Regions from separate parts of the Homo sapiens genome. Here all the other regions are linked to region 1. Evidence: promoter capture Hi-C in 16 types of primary human blood cells and fetal thymus (Javierre and others, 2016). All regions are on one chromosome and are shown on one strand. The core of a region is centred on a gene start or on the middle of the fragment in contact, and the rest is flanking DNA. Distances in the headings are between cores, read along the strand shown. Region 1 holds the start of HCFC1-AS1 (HCFC1 antisense RNA 1). Region 2 overlaps CCNQ (cyclin Q). Region 3 holds the start of DUSP9 (dual specificity phosphatase 9). Region 4 overlaps FLNA (filamin A). Region 5 holds the start of PLXNA3 (plexin A3).

Region 1 (2,700 bases), core at 11-2,510:
ACATCCGCCGACCCGGGTAATGCCGGAGCCTTGGGGACCCCTAGGACGGGCCGGCGGCAGGGCCGCCTCTCCCTTTCCACGTTTACTTCTGCAGCATTTCTTTCCAAGTCGCCCCTTCTCCTAATCTGGTGCCTTCTGGTTTACAAGCTGAATTCCAGTTACCCCTCAGCGGCCTGCGTAGTCGTGTGTCTCCCCGCTTCTGCGGATCCAGGGGGTTACCCCACCCGCTCTTCTGCCTCCCTGCAAAACCCAAAGCCCGTTAGTTGGGAAGGGGAGGAACCTCTCTCTTCAGGTATGGCTGATGCACCACGGCCTTCGTGGGGGCCGTTTGTTGTTGCCTCTGCCTAGTAGCCTTGCTTAGTCTCTAGGGCAGAAAGCCTGCTGCTGTCCACGACAGCTTTGTGGCATCCTTTTTCTTGGTGGCTACTTGGCCCGTTTTGTGCCCCTAGCACAAGGGTCAGTTCCCAAGTTGCCTACTGACTGCCCGTTGGCCCACAGGACCCTGGCCTTGCCCAGAAGGCAGGGTCAGGGTGAGTTCGGTCCCAGGCAAGAGCTGGAAGAGTCTGGGTGAGGGAAAAGCCCCCTGCAGGCGGCTGGGGGAGGGCCTTGGGATGCCCTAGTCCTGAGTGGCAGGCACGGCTCCCAGCACTAACCCCTTGCTCCGCGGCCGTTCTCTCCTGGGGGCTCTAGCGATCCCCTGGCCTCGGTGGTGGCCCTGCAGACAAACCCTCGCTGAGTGGGCTTTGTGTCCTGAGCGGTGAGAGGCTGCTGTTCTTTGGCTGAGCTCCAGTGCCTCGATGCTCTGGGGGTGGGAAGCTGGAGCTGCCTGGAGGGAGAAAGTTGGTTTAGGGAGTTGGGAAGGCTGGAGCTGGGCTCTTGGGTGCCGCTTCCTTCCCCACCCCCCAAGGCAGAAAGTGCTGGTTTCTCCACATCTCGGAGATTATCGCCACCTACCACGTTGACTTTGAAAGGCTGGTGGGTTGTCTGTGACCGTTTTTCGTTCCAGGTCTCTCAGCACCTGTTGCCTCCAGGGAGCAGGGCCTTTCTCAGCAGCCCCCGGGCGGGGGCGCTTGGTGGTTGGTGGTGCCCCGCGCCAGCCCAGGCAGCTGCAGTAGCAGGAATTAGCTCAGTAAGCTAAGGCTTCTCCAGTGGTGGGGCTGTTTATAGAGGCACCGTCACCATGAGCAGCACCTTCTCCACTCTGTGGACCGACTTTCTTCTCATAAGGCCTGGAGCAGGCTCCCTGGCAGGGAAATGCAATTTTAGAAAGTAGGGCAGGGGCCTAATTACAGTCGGCTCCAGAGTCCACCACCACTGCTGCCTTGGCTTCCTGGGGCCTCTGCATATTCATTAGTTTATTAAAATGAATTGACCACTTTGGCATGAATTCATTACCAGTCTGCAAAGACAGGTTGTGCATTAGAGGGGTAGCCTGCCTTCCAAAGGGCTGCTTAAAATGAAGCTCTGGGATCCTCCAGGGTAGCAGTTTGGAAACTGTCATCGGCAATTCCTCAGACGAGAGAGCAGCTGGCAGACCTGAAGCCCTCTTCCTCACCGGGGTTTCTGCCCCCTCCCGCCAGCCCGGCCTCGTCACCTTTGTCTTGTCTTCTTTTGTTGTGTTTGGGATGAGATCAGGGCATATTCTCACGCCTGTGCCCCTTGCAGTTCTGCGGGATCAGTCCTCAAAAAGCCTTGTACCTTTGGAGAGAGCTGATCTGGAAGGGGTTCCCGTTGCTAGGATAAGAAAGCTTCAGGGGGTGTGTGCTTTGAGAGCTCTTAGGGTAGCTACTGTGCTTGTCCTTAGGGAATTTTAGTTCCATGTGGCAAGCCAAAGGATTCAGAGTGCTGCCAGGTGTGGGGGGTGGGGGAGCGAGAGCTTTGGCTACGGTGGCTCTGTAATGTCCATAGGTTCTTGGAGCTGGAGGGAGCCTTGGAAAATACCTAGTGGAACTACTTCCTTGTTTCTGCAGATGAGGAAATTGGGGTCCAAGAGGGGAAGTGACAGGTCCAGGGTCGCCCTCCCAGCTGGTGGCGGAGTTGGGCGGGAGTGCAAACCTTCATAGAGGCCGTTCTGCCACCTGTCTTTGGGGCCCATCACCTTTGAAATGCCTCCATTCTCTCCTCTGTCCCTGTATCTAATTGTTCATTGCGTTGGGCAGGCATCAAATGTGTCCCCTTCCACACCAAGCCCTCCTCTCCTCTTACTAGACTCTTGCAGTCACTTCCTGATTGGCCCTGCTAGTTTCATTTGTCGGGAAATCCTGTTCACCCTTCAAGGCCCGGCTGAAACGTCACCTCTTCTGAGAAGCCCTTTCCACTCCTGTCCTCCCCTCTCCAGCAGTCGCACTGCTCTGTGCTCCCAAGGGCCCGGCTTGGTCAGAGCTCTTCTAGGGTGTTTGTCTCATCGTGGGAGGGGGGCATGCAGCCTTCCTACCCCATTGGGAGTATGAGCACAAGATCGGTGTCCTCTGTGCCTCCCAGCACGTCGTATGCCACACAGGAAATGCTCTAATGTGACAGGTAGAACAGAGAGGAAGGCAGCTCGTTGAACTTGACCGGCCACCTCACTGCATGGGCACCAGTCTCTAGGTGGTGATGGGACAGTGGCAACCAGGGATGGAGCTTGCAGAGCATGAAGTGGTTGGGGGAGCTGATGAAACACAGAGAGGCCGGGGCACAGCCTTGCTCAGGAGAGGGGAG
Region 2 (2,781 bases), core at 201-2,700, 380 kb after region 1:
CATATGATATTAACATATTCATCCATCGATGGATGCAGGCTGCTTCCACGTTTTGGCCTTGCTTTTTTTTTTTTTTTTTTTTTTTTTTAATAGAGACAGAGTCTCACTCTATTGCCCAGGCTGGAGTACAGTGGCGCAATCTCAGCTTACTACAGCCTCCACCTCCTTGGTTCAAGTGATTGTCCTGCCTCAGTCTCCTAAGTAACTGGGATTACAAGTGCCTGCCACCACACCTGGCTAATTTTTGTATTTTTAGTAGAGACGGGGTTTCACCATGTTGGCCAGGCTGATCTTGAACTCGTGACCTCCAGTGATCCACCCGCCTCGGCCTCCCAAAGTGCTGGGATTACAAGCGTGAGCCACTATGCCCAGCCCCTGAATGTTTTTTAATGATTGCTTCTGAGCTTGGGGTCTCCAGGAGCACACAGGTCATGGACCCCAGCAAGCAAGTGTGCATTTCTGAAGTATTTGTTTTTCACCCAGAGCCCAGGGTAAGACAGCTATGCTTCCTGAGTCAGGACTTGGAGGGCGTCCAGGTCACCATCTCCTACCTGAGGTTGTAGGCCACAGAGGAACCTAGGGTTCTTTGGGAGCATTCAGCAGGGGTGGACGTAGGTCCAGTTCTTGCCTTGACTTGGCCCAAGGCCTTGATCTGATTGGTACATTGGTTCCCCAGGCAGCAAGCTCTGGCACAGGGTGGCTACAGACGCAGCATCTGACCAAGGTCTTGCTGCTTTACTTACTATTTCCCTTATCATTGGGGATCCCGAAGAGCACCCTGGGGCTCAGTGCTGTGCCGGGAGGGCTCGGAACTCAGAAAAGCTGTCACACTCCCAGTTCCGGTTTATTACAAGGAAAGGACACAGGTTACCGTGAGCGAAGGCTCAGGGCGCACAGGGCGGGCTCCAGGAGAGACCAGGCGTGAGCTTCAGCGGCTCCTCGCCCAGGGGAGTTGTGCAGACGGCACCTGTTTCTTTCGGCAACAGTGTGGGACAGCGAGCACGGAGTCACAACCGGGAAGCTCATCCCAGCCATGGCGGCCAGGGTTTCCGTGGGAGGTGGTGGGCTGCATGGGCATGGAGCGCCTGCGTGGCCAACCCTGGTCACTTGGGCTGCAGCCACCAGAGATCTGGCTGGGACTCTGTGGCCCAAGGCCCTCACCATAAATGATGTGGTTAGCACAGACCGCCTGGCAGTCCAGTAAACCAAGACGCTCACACGGGGCAGGATTTTCTAGGGGCCTAGAGGTTATCCTCCAGGAGCCAGGCAGAGGCCAGACCTGCCTTTGGAAGGTACAGGGTGTGGACCCCAGCCTGTGGCGTGGCCCTGGGCTGCAACCCTCCTGCCATGGGCCCCGAGGATGTCCTTCGCCGTCTTGCGAGTGCTCCTGCACGTGGCGGTCCGGACTGTGGAGTGGGTCCACATGCTCCCCAGGGGCTGGGTTAGGGTAGGCGTGGGGTCCGGGTACTTAGCCTGCCTGTGGCTGCACAGGGACTGCCACCCTCTCCTCTTGCCAGTGTCCGCAGAGACCCTGGACCTGAGGGAGTCCCGGGCAGGAGGCAGGAGCCTGTGCTCTGGACCCAGCTGTGTTACCAATTCCCTGTATGACGTTGGACAGGTCCCCTCCTCTCTGAGTCAGAAGATCACCAAGGCCTGTTCCATCTGGAATGTTCTCGGCCTTGTAAAGTGTTTGGCCTCAACGGGCTGGAATTAAACTGGCTTTGCAGGAGAGCTACTGTCTTCCTACATAGCCAAGTCCCTGTGCCCCTCCCCTGCCCATGAAATGTGATTCTCTGCTTAGTGACAGGTGCCTTGTTTAACATAGAGGGAGTCTAACTGGAACCTGTTTTCCTTCTTCTTTCTAGGTGTTTAATGACGACCTTACCAAGCCAATCATTGATAATATTGTGTCTGATCTCATTCAGATTTATACCATGGACACAGAGATCCCCTAAGGTCCTGGCCCAGGCCTGCCCAAAGAGAAGCCCAGGATGGTCGGCTGCCTGGGGACATTGTCACCACGTCGCCATGACGGCTGGTCCCCACAGGACCAGCTGGGAGGACTGGTTGTGCTGCTGGAGAAGGGCTGGAGAAGGCAATGGCATGCTGCCGCTTTGCCAGTCCCTAGAAGTCGCGGTGCAGGTGATGGTGGGAGCCGCGCCTCCAGCGGGCAGGCCGGGAGTGTACTGTGTGCAGCTGACCCAAGGCAGCCACATCTGCGTTTGTCCTTTGAGAGGACTTTGACTACAATACAGGCATGACATCAATGAAAGGAAAGTCATGAAATCGATGAGACTGAATCCCTACGGATTTCTTAAAAGCCAGATTTGTAGGGAGAATGAATGTGCAACGTGGCTGAAATCTATTTTGTGTAATAAAAGGTGATACAAGTCAATAGGGACCCTTGGCTTTGCTCTGCAGCGCATGCTGCACATGGGGGTGTGAGGGGCCCTCAGAGACTGGTTCCCTCAGAGTGCTCTCAGGTAGAGTGTGTCCCAGCCATCAGGCGGCAGGCCTGGGGTTAGGGAGGATCACTTGCATTCAGAAAAGTGAGTCCTGATCGAACGTAACTAAAAGTAATGCGTTTTTAAATGTCAAGGTAGCCAGTCTGGATGGGGAGGCTGGAGAAACTCAGAGCTGTGGCCCCCAGCACCCCTCTGACTCCTTGCTCAAAAGCCAGTGGGTAAGAAATAGACCAGTCCAGGAGGCGCTCTCTAGGTCCCCTTTCAGGCTAGACGTACGTTCAGCACGTGGCGTAGGGCCGGGGGACTGGTAGGTTTA
Region 3 (2,700 bases), core at 124-2,623, 320 kb after region 1:
ATTCGTTCTTGAGCATCCTGAGAACTAGCTCAGGTCAGGCTAATTCTCCCCATTTTCCAGGCTCAGAGACTGGGCTGCCGAGGGTGAAGAACTTCCCCACGGTCACACTCAGGCTTCCCTCCTCTCAAAGCAGCCTGGCAGGTCATCAGGGGAGGGGGGCCTCAACTCGCTTTAGAAAAAAAGAAGTGGGGCTGGCCTAAGGTCAAATGAATCCCGAACCCCCTGGAAGGAGGGCCCCGCGGCACCTACCCTGGAGGTAGTAGGCCAGGTAGCCTTCCTCTCGCAGCTTCTGCAGCAGGGTGCCCAGCACCGACTCGGCCTCCCACTCCTCGGCCTCGGCCTCGGCCTCCCCGCGCCGGCGCCGGCCCCCGCCCTGGTCGTACAGGAGCACGGGGGCAGGCGGGGGCGGCTGCAGCGGCGGCCCAGGCAGGAGCGCGCGCACCGACAGGCTGCCCCTCCGCAGGCGGCGCAGCAGGAGCGCCGGCAGGGCCACGCTCAGCGCCCCACCGATGCGCGCCGACTCGTACAGCTCGCGGCTGCGGCAGTCCAGGAGCAGGAGCCGCGGCCGCGGGGGCGACAGCTCCCGACGCAGCCACAGGCACGAGCGGCCCAGACCCTCCATGGGCGATCGGCTCCCTACACGCTGGACCACGGGCGCTGCGAAGAGAGAGAAGGCGCGGTGTGAGCTACCGGAGGGCCGAGGGGGCTCAGACTTGAAGCCGGCCCCGCGTCCTGAAGGCGGGAGCCCAGGGTCCCCCACCATGAGGACTCCCAACAAGGCGCCCCAAGAAACCCCCCAGGCAGCAGCTCGGCCCGGGGAAGGGTCCTCGAGAAGAGGGCTGAGCGGCTAACCGCCCCTTCGAGGCTCATCTTGGGGTACCCTGAGGTCGCAGCCGCCTCCCTCCATACCCCCTTTCTGCTCCTGTCTCGGTCTTCTCGCGAACGCTCCCCAAGTTCGAGCTTCCGACTCTGGCTGGGGGTGTGCGTGCGAGGAGTGCCGTTCGAGGCCTAGATCTCCCCCAGGGCCAGGTGGGCCAGGGGAACAGAGGAGGCGCCGAGGTGCTGGGCCTCAGCGAGTCCTCTCAGAGGTGGTCTGGCCCCCGGTCCCCCATCTCCCCCTACCCCTAGGAGAGAACAAAAGGAAAGAGACCTGGAGCGAGATCCGGCGGTGGACGACCGCGCGTGGACGTTCTGGCCACGGCCACTGCCACGGCGGAACGCGAGGCGCCGTCCCGCGGCAGAGAGTCCCCAGGCCTGGCCGCCAGGAGAGGGCGGGGCGGCGGTGCAGGCTCGCACGTGGAAGCCGAGCCCCGCGCAGCCCGCGCAGCCCGCGCACCGGCCGCTTCCTGGCAGCCGGACCCAGCTTCCACCTTGGAAACTGCCTTCGGACGTGGAGTTACAACTCCGAGGGGCGGGCCGGGGCGGGGCTCCGGGGGCGGGCCCGGCGGGCCGGTGAGCCAACGGGTGCTAGCCGAAGCAGTCGGGTGGGACCTGCGAGTCGGCTGAGCTGGGGCTTCCACCGAGGCGGGACGGGGTCGGGGCAGAGGCCAAGGGCAGGTCAGGGGCCCAGCAGGGGACCAGCTGCGGCTCCCCTGGCCGGCGCCAGCCTGGCCTCGGGAGGCAGGGGGAGGGGTGAGGACCAGAGCCCAGCCCCTCTGCCGCAGAAGCTGCCTCCAGCCCAACTCACAGGGTGATACTGGAGCATCTTCTCCCCTGCCTGGATCTCAGTGGCCCCATCTCTGTAATGGGCTCAGAGCTAGCAGCTTGGGCAAACTTGGGATGCCACCGAAATCACGGAGGGGAGGAGGAGGCAGGACCAGAAACTTAGTGCAGCTTTGGCCCAGAGGTCTGCTGCAGGGCTAGGCAGGCAGGGGTAGCTCCTGGATACCTACCAATACCAGCCCGCTTCACTCGCACAGGACTGGCCAAAAGCACCCAGGAACCCTGAGCTCCCAGCCCTAAACTGGGGCACTCTGCTCTTATCACATTACTGATCCTAAGAGTCACCCGTGGCTCCCCCCTCTGCCTCCTTCCCTTAACCCCCCTTCGGCTAATCAAAGTGGAAAGAACTAGTTTCTACCTAAATATCTCTCACATCCACGCCTCTCTCCCCTGTCCCTTGCCCTAGCCGAGGGCTCAAATTCATCAGCTTTAGGCCAGGTCACTGTCACGTCTTGCACAACAGTCTCCCTGCCTCCGGGCCTGCAACGACCTGCCCTCCACCCTGCCCTGCCCAGCCCTGCCCAACGTCAGAATGCCATCCACTCAACCAAGGCTGGTGGCCTCCATCCTTTCCTCCATGGGCACAACAGGCGGGACAGATCCACAGGCAGCAAGAGCACTGGACAAGGTCTCAGGTGTGGTGAGCACTGAGGCAGGAGACCAGGGTCAGGGGGAGGTGTCCACAATGCTGATCTGGCTAAAAGTCCCTTCTCTGCTTAAAGCTCAACAAAAGCAAATAACAGTGTTGAAGGAAAATGTACGCCAGATAAGATAAAGCTCATACCCAACTAAAAGGTTAAGACCCCTGTAGATAAATGGGCAAAGAACCTGAAAACACTGCATACTGCAGGAAGGAGGGAATGCGGTGGCCTAACAAATATTTGGGGGAAGGTTCAACTTCAGGCGTGGAAGGAAAGCCACTCCAATAAACAAGTAACAATGACCAACGAGGTAACACTTCCCACCTACTGCATTAGA
Region 4 (2,700 bases), core at 1-2,500, 390 kb before region 1:
TGCTGCCTACTCATGATGCCAGCAAGGTGAAGGCCAGTGGCCCCGGGCTCAACACCACTGGCGTGCCTGCCAGCCTGCCCGTGGAGTTCACCATCGATGCAAAGGACGCCGGGGAGGGCCTGCTGGCTGTCCAGATCACGGTGAGCTCCGGGCACAGGCAGGGGAGGCAGGGGGGCCTGGGCGGCTGGAGTGTGGGCTGCGGGTGGCTGGTGTCTGATCTCCCTGCGGAGCTGCACCAAGGAGGGCAGGGAAGGACAGGGCCCCTGTCTTTGGTTTGCTAAGGTTGTGACTACCTTAGGATGGTGGTGACAGGCACAGGCTTCCCCAGACGTGCACTTGCTGCTAACTTTGAGCACGTCACCAAAGCCTTCTGTGCCTCAGTTTCCCCACCTGTAATATTCTCATGGGGCAGGTATAGGATAGAAGCTTGAGATCACCCCGGTGAGCTCCTCCTAGTGCTGGCCAGGCCCTGGGGCTGAGGATGGGTGCCAAGCTGGCTGGCCGCGCCTGTTGTCATGTGGGAAGTGTGGGATGTTTTAGTCTCCATTCTGGACTCTGCCAGGTGCAGGCAGCCCTTTTGGGCCATAGCAGTTAAGATGCCTGAGGCCCAGAGACTGTCCCTGTAGCAGCAGCGCTGGGCACTCTGGGAGCGCCTGAGGCAGGCCCGGGGCTACTCGGGCTTGGGCCAACTGCCTCCCCTGCCTCTGCCACACAGGATCCCGAAGGCAAGCCGAAGAAGACACACATCCAAGACAACCATGACGGCACGTATACAGTGGCCTACGTGCCAGACGTGACAGGTCGCTACACCATCCTCATCAAGTACGGTGGTGACGAGATCCCCTTCTCCCCGTACCGCGTGCGTGCCGTGCCCACCGGGGACGCCAGCAAGTGCACTGTCACAGGTGAGCCCGCCCGCTGTTGGCCGCTGCGGCGCTCGGCACGGGGCTTGGGTTGTGCCTGTGTGCAAGGGCTCGCTGCTTGGGGCGGCGTGTGGGAGTGGGGGCCGCCCCCTTGAGTGACTCACCTGACCTTTCTCCTTGCTCTCTGCCCTCTCACCTCAGTGTCAATCGGAGGTCACGGGCTAGGTAAGCTGCTTGCTGGGGCCACTCCCAATGCCCCTCCTGCCCAGAGGGGCAGCTTCCTTTCCTCTTGGGGCCGATTCCCAGGACAGTTCCAGCTGCAGCTCTAGGCAGGGACAGAGTTGGGTGGGGTGCAGAAGATGAGGCCGTGGGCTGGAGGGCGAGGGCCCAGGGAGGCTTCCGGAGCTGAGCATGACCGCTCCAGCTCTTCCCCTCTCTGGGCCTTTATTTCCCCATCTGAGAACTCGGGTTGCAGCTGAGAGCTTTGGGGTGAGGTGCATCCTGAGAGGCACCCCACTGGGGACTTTGGGGTCTCGGGATCTTGGCACCCAGGGAGGCACAAGGGCTCCTGCGTGGGCTGAGGGAACAAGGGGTCTCCCCAACTCAATGGGAGCCCCAGCCCTGGCCAGATCCACAGACCCCCATCCCCACCTTCCAGGGGCCTCTGCGTCCCGGGCCGGGGGAGGTGCATGAGCGGGTGGGGCTGGCTGGTAGTGCAGTAGCGCCAGTGTCGACTGCTTGGGCGGCCAGCATGGCGGGGCCCGGCCCAGCCTCAGAGCCCCAAAGTGCATTCTGTGGCCCGTCTCCCTCCTTCCCCCTTCCCCTATCCCCCAGCAGTGACGTTATTCAGACATTCCCCAACAGGCATGGAGGGTCACCTGCCCCAGCCAGGGACACCCAGGGATGCTGATGAGAGGCTACAGGCCTGGCACTTGGGCGAGGTGGCTAAGGAAAGGGTGAGAGGGTGGCTAGAGTTTTGCGGCAGGAGCGAGATGGCTTTATAGAGCAGGCCGTAGGATCCGATGTGTGTGTGACAGGCGTGTGTGCGCAGGGCGGGGGAGGCTGGGGAGTACTGATTGCAGGGCCTTGGGGGCTTTGAGGGTGGGAGCAAGACTCAGTAACCTCAGTTTCCCTGGCTACTGTTTGCAGAATGGAGACAGGGAGCCCGGGGTGGGGAAGGGGGCGCTGAAGTTGCTCTCTGGCAAGCTTGACGGCCACGGGGCTTCAGTGAGAGCCAAATTAGGAGGCATACTTTGAGGATGGAGTGGCTGAGACCTGCGGTTGGCTGGGAGCCGGGCAGGGAAAGTGGGGGCAGTCGGGTACCTGTGAGGTTGGGGCCCAAGCCACTAACTAGATGGCATGGGGTGCACATGAGTGAAGCCTCCCAGGGCAGCGTGGGCAGCCGGCAGCCAGGTCTGGAGCCTGGGAGAGCTGCCTGGCCGCGGCAGGCCAGCATGGAGCCTAGTGCAGCAGGAGCCCTCGGCCGATAGTGGGACTTGGTGGCAGGGCCCCTCGAGCTTGGCCTTCAAGTAGGTTTCGTGCTCCTGGCTGCTTCCCTGGCAGGAGGCCAGGCTGCAGGGGGCACTCTCACTGCCAGGCCTCACAGCCCACAGCCCCCCAAGCCTCCACGGCGGAGACCCAGATCATAACGTCACTGTCTCTCCCCTTTCCTCGGGCACTCTGGGGCCCTGGAGCCTGCTCAGCTGCTCTGCCCTCGCAACCCAGCAGTGGTGGCTGTAGCTTGGGCCTCCTGTTCCCTGTCTCCCTGGGTGCTATCCCCGCTCTGCCAAGCCTGCTGCGCTGCGCTACTCGGGTGCTAACCCCGCTGCCTCCCGCT
Region 5 (2,700 bases), core at 185-2,684, 490 kb before region 1:
GAGCCCTGGGACAGAGGTCTGGGGAATGGAGGCCTGATGCAGGATCCAGCACCACCATGTCCCCTGCAGGGGCCCCAGCTGCCTCCCCGACAAGGGCCTCAGCTGGCCATCCAGGAGCCCGCTGTCTGGCCTCCCCGATGCAACACAAAGCCAAGTCGCGCCTGCCCCTCAGCCACGCACCCAGACACACATCAGTCAAGCTCTGCTCAGCCACAGCCTGCATGGCTCCCCCTCCAGACCCAGGGGTTCACTGGAGAAGGGAATGTACAGGGGGCCCTACCTGCCCTTTGGAGTCCCAGGAGCCTTACAAGAGGAGGAGCAATGTCCCCAAATACAGTCAAGGCCTTGGAGAGACAGGGCAGGAGCCACAGGGACAGTGCTGGGACTGGCACTTAGTCCCCAGGCCACACCCAGTCAGCCCCAGGCTGCTAAGACAGCAGAGCAGTGTCGTGGCAGCCAACAGGGCAGGGCTCAGCGCTACCCTCTCAGTGCCAGAGCTCCCGGGGGAGATAGGAGGTACCCAGCTTGAGGGCGGGAGGCGGGGGGGGAGCGGGGGGTGGTGCAGGGAACCAAACCAAGGAGGCACAGGAGAGAGAAAGGAAAAATAAGGCATTTGCCAGGAACAAGCAGCGGGCCCAGCTTGAAACTGCAAAGTTTCAGCTCAGATTGATCACCTCTCCAGGGCTCTTTTGTCAGCTGGACCCCTCATGCAACAGCCGGAGAAGAAAGGAAGGCCAAAGAAAAGAGAGGCCACATCCTGTCTTCACCTCCTCTACACCCCGGGAACACAAGCCTAGGAACAGGCTGGGGACAGGTCGGGAGGGAGACCTGGGGAGGCAGTTTCAGGCCCAGCCCCCACCTGTAAGTGGCAACCTCGGGCATCACAGGTACAGCTGGGCCAGCAGAGAGCCTGAGGAAGGGGCAGCCCCACGCAGAGACGGGGGTCCAGCGGCCGCCCCCCACACCCCCCACCGTGCTGCTGGTCCGGTTTGCCCGGGCCCCATCAGGGCACCCCTCGGCGGACTCGCGGAGCCCTTAGCGGGAGGGAAGTACAGCGTTGATCCTCCGAGGGGCCGCTCCCCTGCGACAAAGGGTCCTCTTTGGGCAGGGTGTTGGTCTTGGGTTGGCGTCCCCACCATGCGGGGCACAAGGAGTCGGGCAGGCCGGCGCCGACGGGCAGGGATAGGGCCTGACCCCCACAGGCCGAGCCGGACCCCCGGGCTGCCGGAGCCCCGGGCCCCGAGCTGTTTGGCCCCGCACGGACGGCGACGATGACGGCCACCTACCTGTCCCTCCGCTGGCTCCGGGTGGCCGCCCTCTGGCCACGTGGACGCGCCCCCGAGCCCCACCGCGGCCCCGCTCGCACGTCCCCACGGCCTCGCCCCGCGCCCCGGGCCCCAAGCGCGCAGCCGCCGCCGCCGCCGCCCACACACTGGGCTGGCCCGGGGGCCGCCGGAGCCTTTTAAACCCGGACCGTACCACCGCGCGGGGCGGGGGCGTCCGGGGACGCCCGGCCGAGGGGGACGCGGCGGCAGGGGACGCAGGCGGGGCCGCTGCTCCCCGGGGCCAGGGACCTCGCGCGCAGCCCTGACCCCCGCGACCTGAAGGGGGACCCGCCCGGCCAGCCGACCCCCTTCGCTCGATGGCCGCGTCCGCGGCGCGCGCCTCCCCCGCGCCCCGGCTCCCCGCCCGCCGCCTCGGGCGACCCCGGAACCCGCGCGCGCCCGCGCCACACCCCCTCGGGCCTGGGGCGCGCGTCCGCCTCGCCCCACCCTGGCGCTCGGAGACGCGCCCGGGGTCACCTGCCACCGGGGCGCGGCCTCGCTGGTCCCGGCCTCTCAGGTGCACCCCCGCCGAGGAGTCGCGTCCCCAGCTCAAGACACGCCCCCGACGGTCTCTAACCCGGAGGGCCTGCGGGACAGCCGTCCAAACCAGCCCCTTCCCCGGCGACCCTGAACCGAGGGCTTTCTTCCTTCCCTTGCTTTCTTTTTCCTTTTCTTTTTTTGTTTTCTTTTGACACAGGGTCTCGCTCTGTCACCCGGGCTGGAGTGCAGTGGTGAGATCATAGCTCACTGCAGCCTCGACCGCCCCAGGCTCAAACGATGCTCCCGCCTCAGCCTCCCAAAGTGCTGGGACTACAGGTGTGAGCCACCGCGCCCCGTTAAGGTTTTCTTTTTCATTTCCCTGATGACTAATGGTGTTCAGCATCTTTTCATGTGCTTGCTGGCCTTTTGTATATGATCTCTGAAGAAATGTCTATTCAAGTCATTTGCCCATTTTTATTAAACACATATATGGAGAGATAGATAGATAGACAGATTTTTCCCCCCAAGTTGAGGTCGCGCTCTATCACCCAGGCTGCAGTGTAGCGGCATTGGATCATGGCTCACTGCAGCCTCGACTTCCTGGGCTCAAGGGATCCTCCTGCCTCAGCCTCCCAGGTAGCTGGGACCACAGGCAAGTGCCACCACGCCTGGCTAACTTTTCCTATTCTTGTAGAGAGAGACAGGGTCTTGCTACACTGCCCAGGCTAGTCTTGAACTCCTGGGCTTAAGTAATCCTCCTGCCTCAGCCTTCCAAAGTACTGGCATATGCTGGGTGCAGTGACTCAAGCCTGTAATCCCAGCATTTTGGAAGGCTGAAGTGAGCGGATCACCTGAGGTCAGGAGTTCGAGACCAGCCTGGCCAACATGGCAAAAC

The links. The method cuts DNA at HindIII sites, captures the fragments that hold promoters and counts their contacts. A CHiCAGO score of 5 or more calls a contact.
Region 2: a fragment that was not itself captured here is called in contact with the fragment with the promoter of HCFC1-AS1 in region 1 in 1 of 17 cell types (naive B cells); the score reaches 5.8 in naive B cells.
Region 3: the fragment with the promoter of DUSP9 here is called in contact with the fragment with the promoter of HCFC1-AS1 in region 1 in 4 of 17 cell types (naive B cells, total B cells, total CD4 T cells and 1 more); the score reaches 7.3 in naive B cells.
Region 4: a contact is called between a fragment that was not itself captured here and the fragment with the promoter of HCFC1-AS1 in region 1, in 6 of 17 cell types (naive CD4 T cells, non-activated CD4 T cells, monocytes and 3 more). The highest score is 8.7, in naive CD4 T cells.
Region 5: a contact is called between the fragment with the promoter of PLXNA3 here and the fragment with the promoter of HCFC1-AS1 in region 1, in 9 of 17 cell types (total B cells, naive B cells, total CD8 T cells and 6 more). The highest score is 11.1, in total B cells.

Annotation. Positions count from the first base shown.
Region 1 is chrX:153,967,325-153,970,024 of GRCh38, reverse strand. It overlaps HCFC1-AS1 (HCFC1 antisense RNA 1), which reads right to left and starts at 1,260. Exons shown (of 3, transcript NR_046608.3): 1 at 955-1,260; 2 at 654-826; 3 at 1-240. The region is part of intron 1 of HCFC1 (host cell factor C1); the gene reads left to right. RefSeq lists a silencer at 623-801. The HindIII fragment of the contact is 6,911 bases long and covers 1-1,750 here.
Region 2 is chrX:153,587,539-153,590,319 of GRCh38, reverse strand. It overlaps CCNQ (cyclin Q), which reads left to right. Exons shown (of 5, transcript NM_152274.5): 5 at 1,866-2,395. The coding sequence ends at 1,955. Among named protein-coding and RNA genes, the nearest start is that of CCNQ, 10 kb to the left of the region's middle. The HindIII fragment of the contact is 4,721 bases long and covers 1-2,781 here.
Region 3 is chrX:153,645,876-153,648,575 of GRCh38, reverse strand. DUSP9 (dual specificity phosphatase 9) reads right to left here and starts at 1,373. Exons shown (of 4, transcript NM_001318503.2): 1 at 1,151-1,373; 2 at 250-657. The coding sequence starts at 622. The HindIII fragment of the contact is 18,543 bases long and covers 1-2,700 here.
Region 4 is chrX:154,355,639-154,358,338 of GRCh38, reverse strand. FLNA (filamin A) reads left to right here. Exons shown (of 48, transcript NM_001110556.2): 28 at 1-140; 29 at 716-905; 30 at 1,065-1,088. Among named protein-coding and RNA genes, the nearest start is that of FLNA, 18 kb to the left of the region's middle. The HindIII fragment of the contact is 1,643 bases long and covers 429-2,071 here.
Region 5 is chrX:154,457,015-154,459,714 of GRCh38, reverse strand. PLXNA3 (plexin A3) reads right to left here and starts at 1,434. Exons shown (of 33, transcript NM_017514.5): 1 at 1,287-1,434. RefSeq lists enhancers at 1-531, 1,957-2,026 and silencers at 1,017-1,086, 1,327-1,566, 1,697-1,866. The HindIII fragment of the contact is 19,869 bases long and covers 1-2,700 here.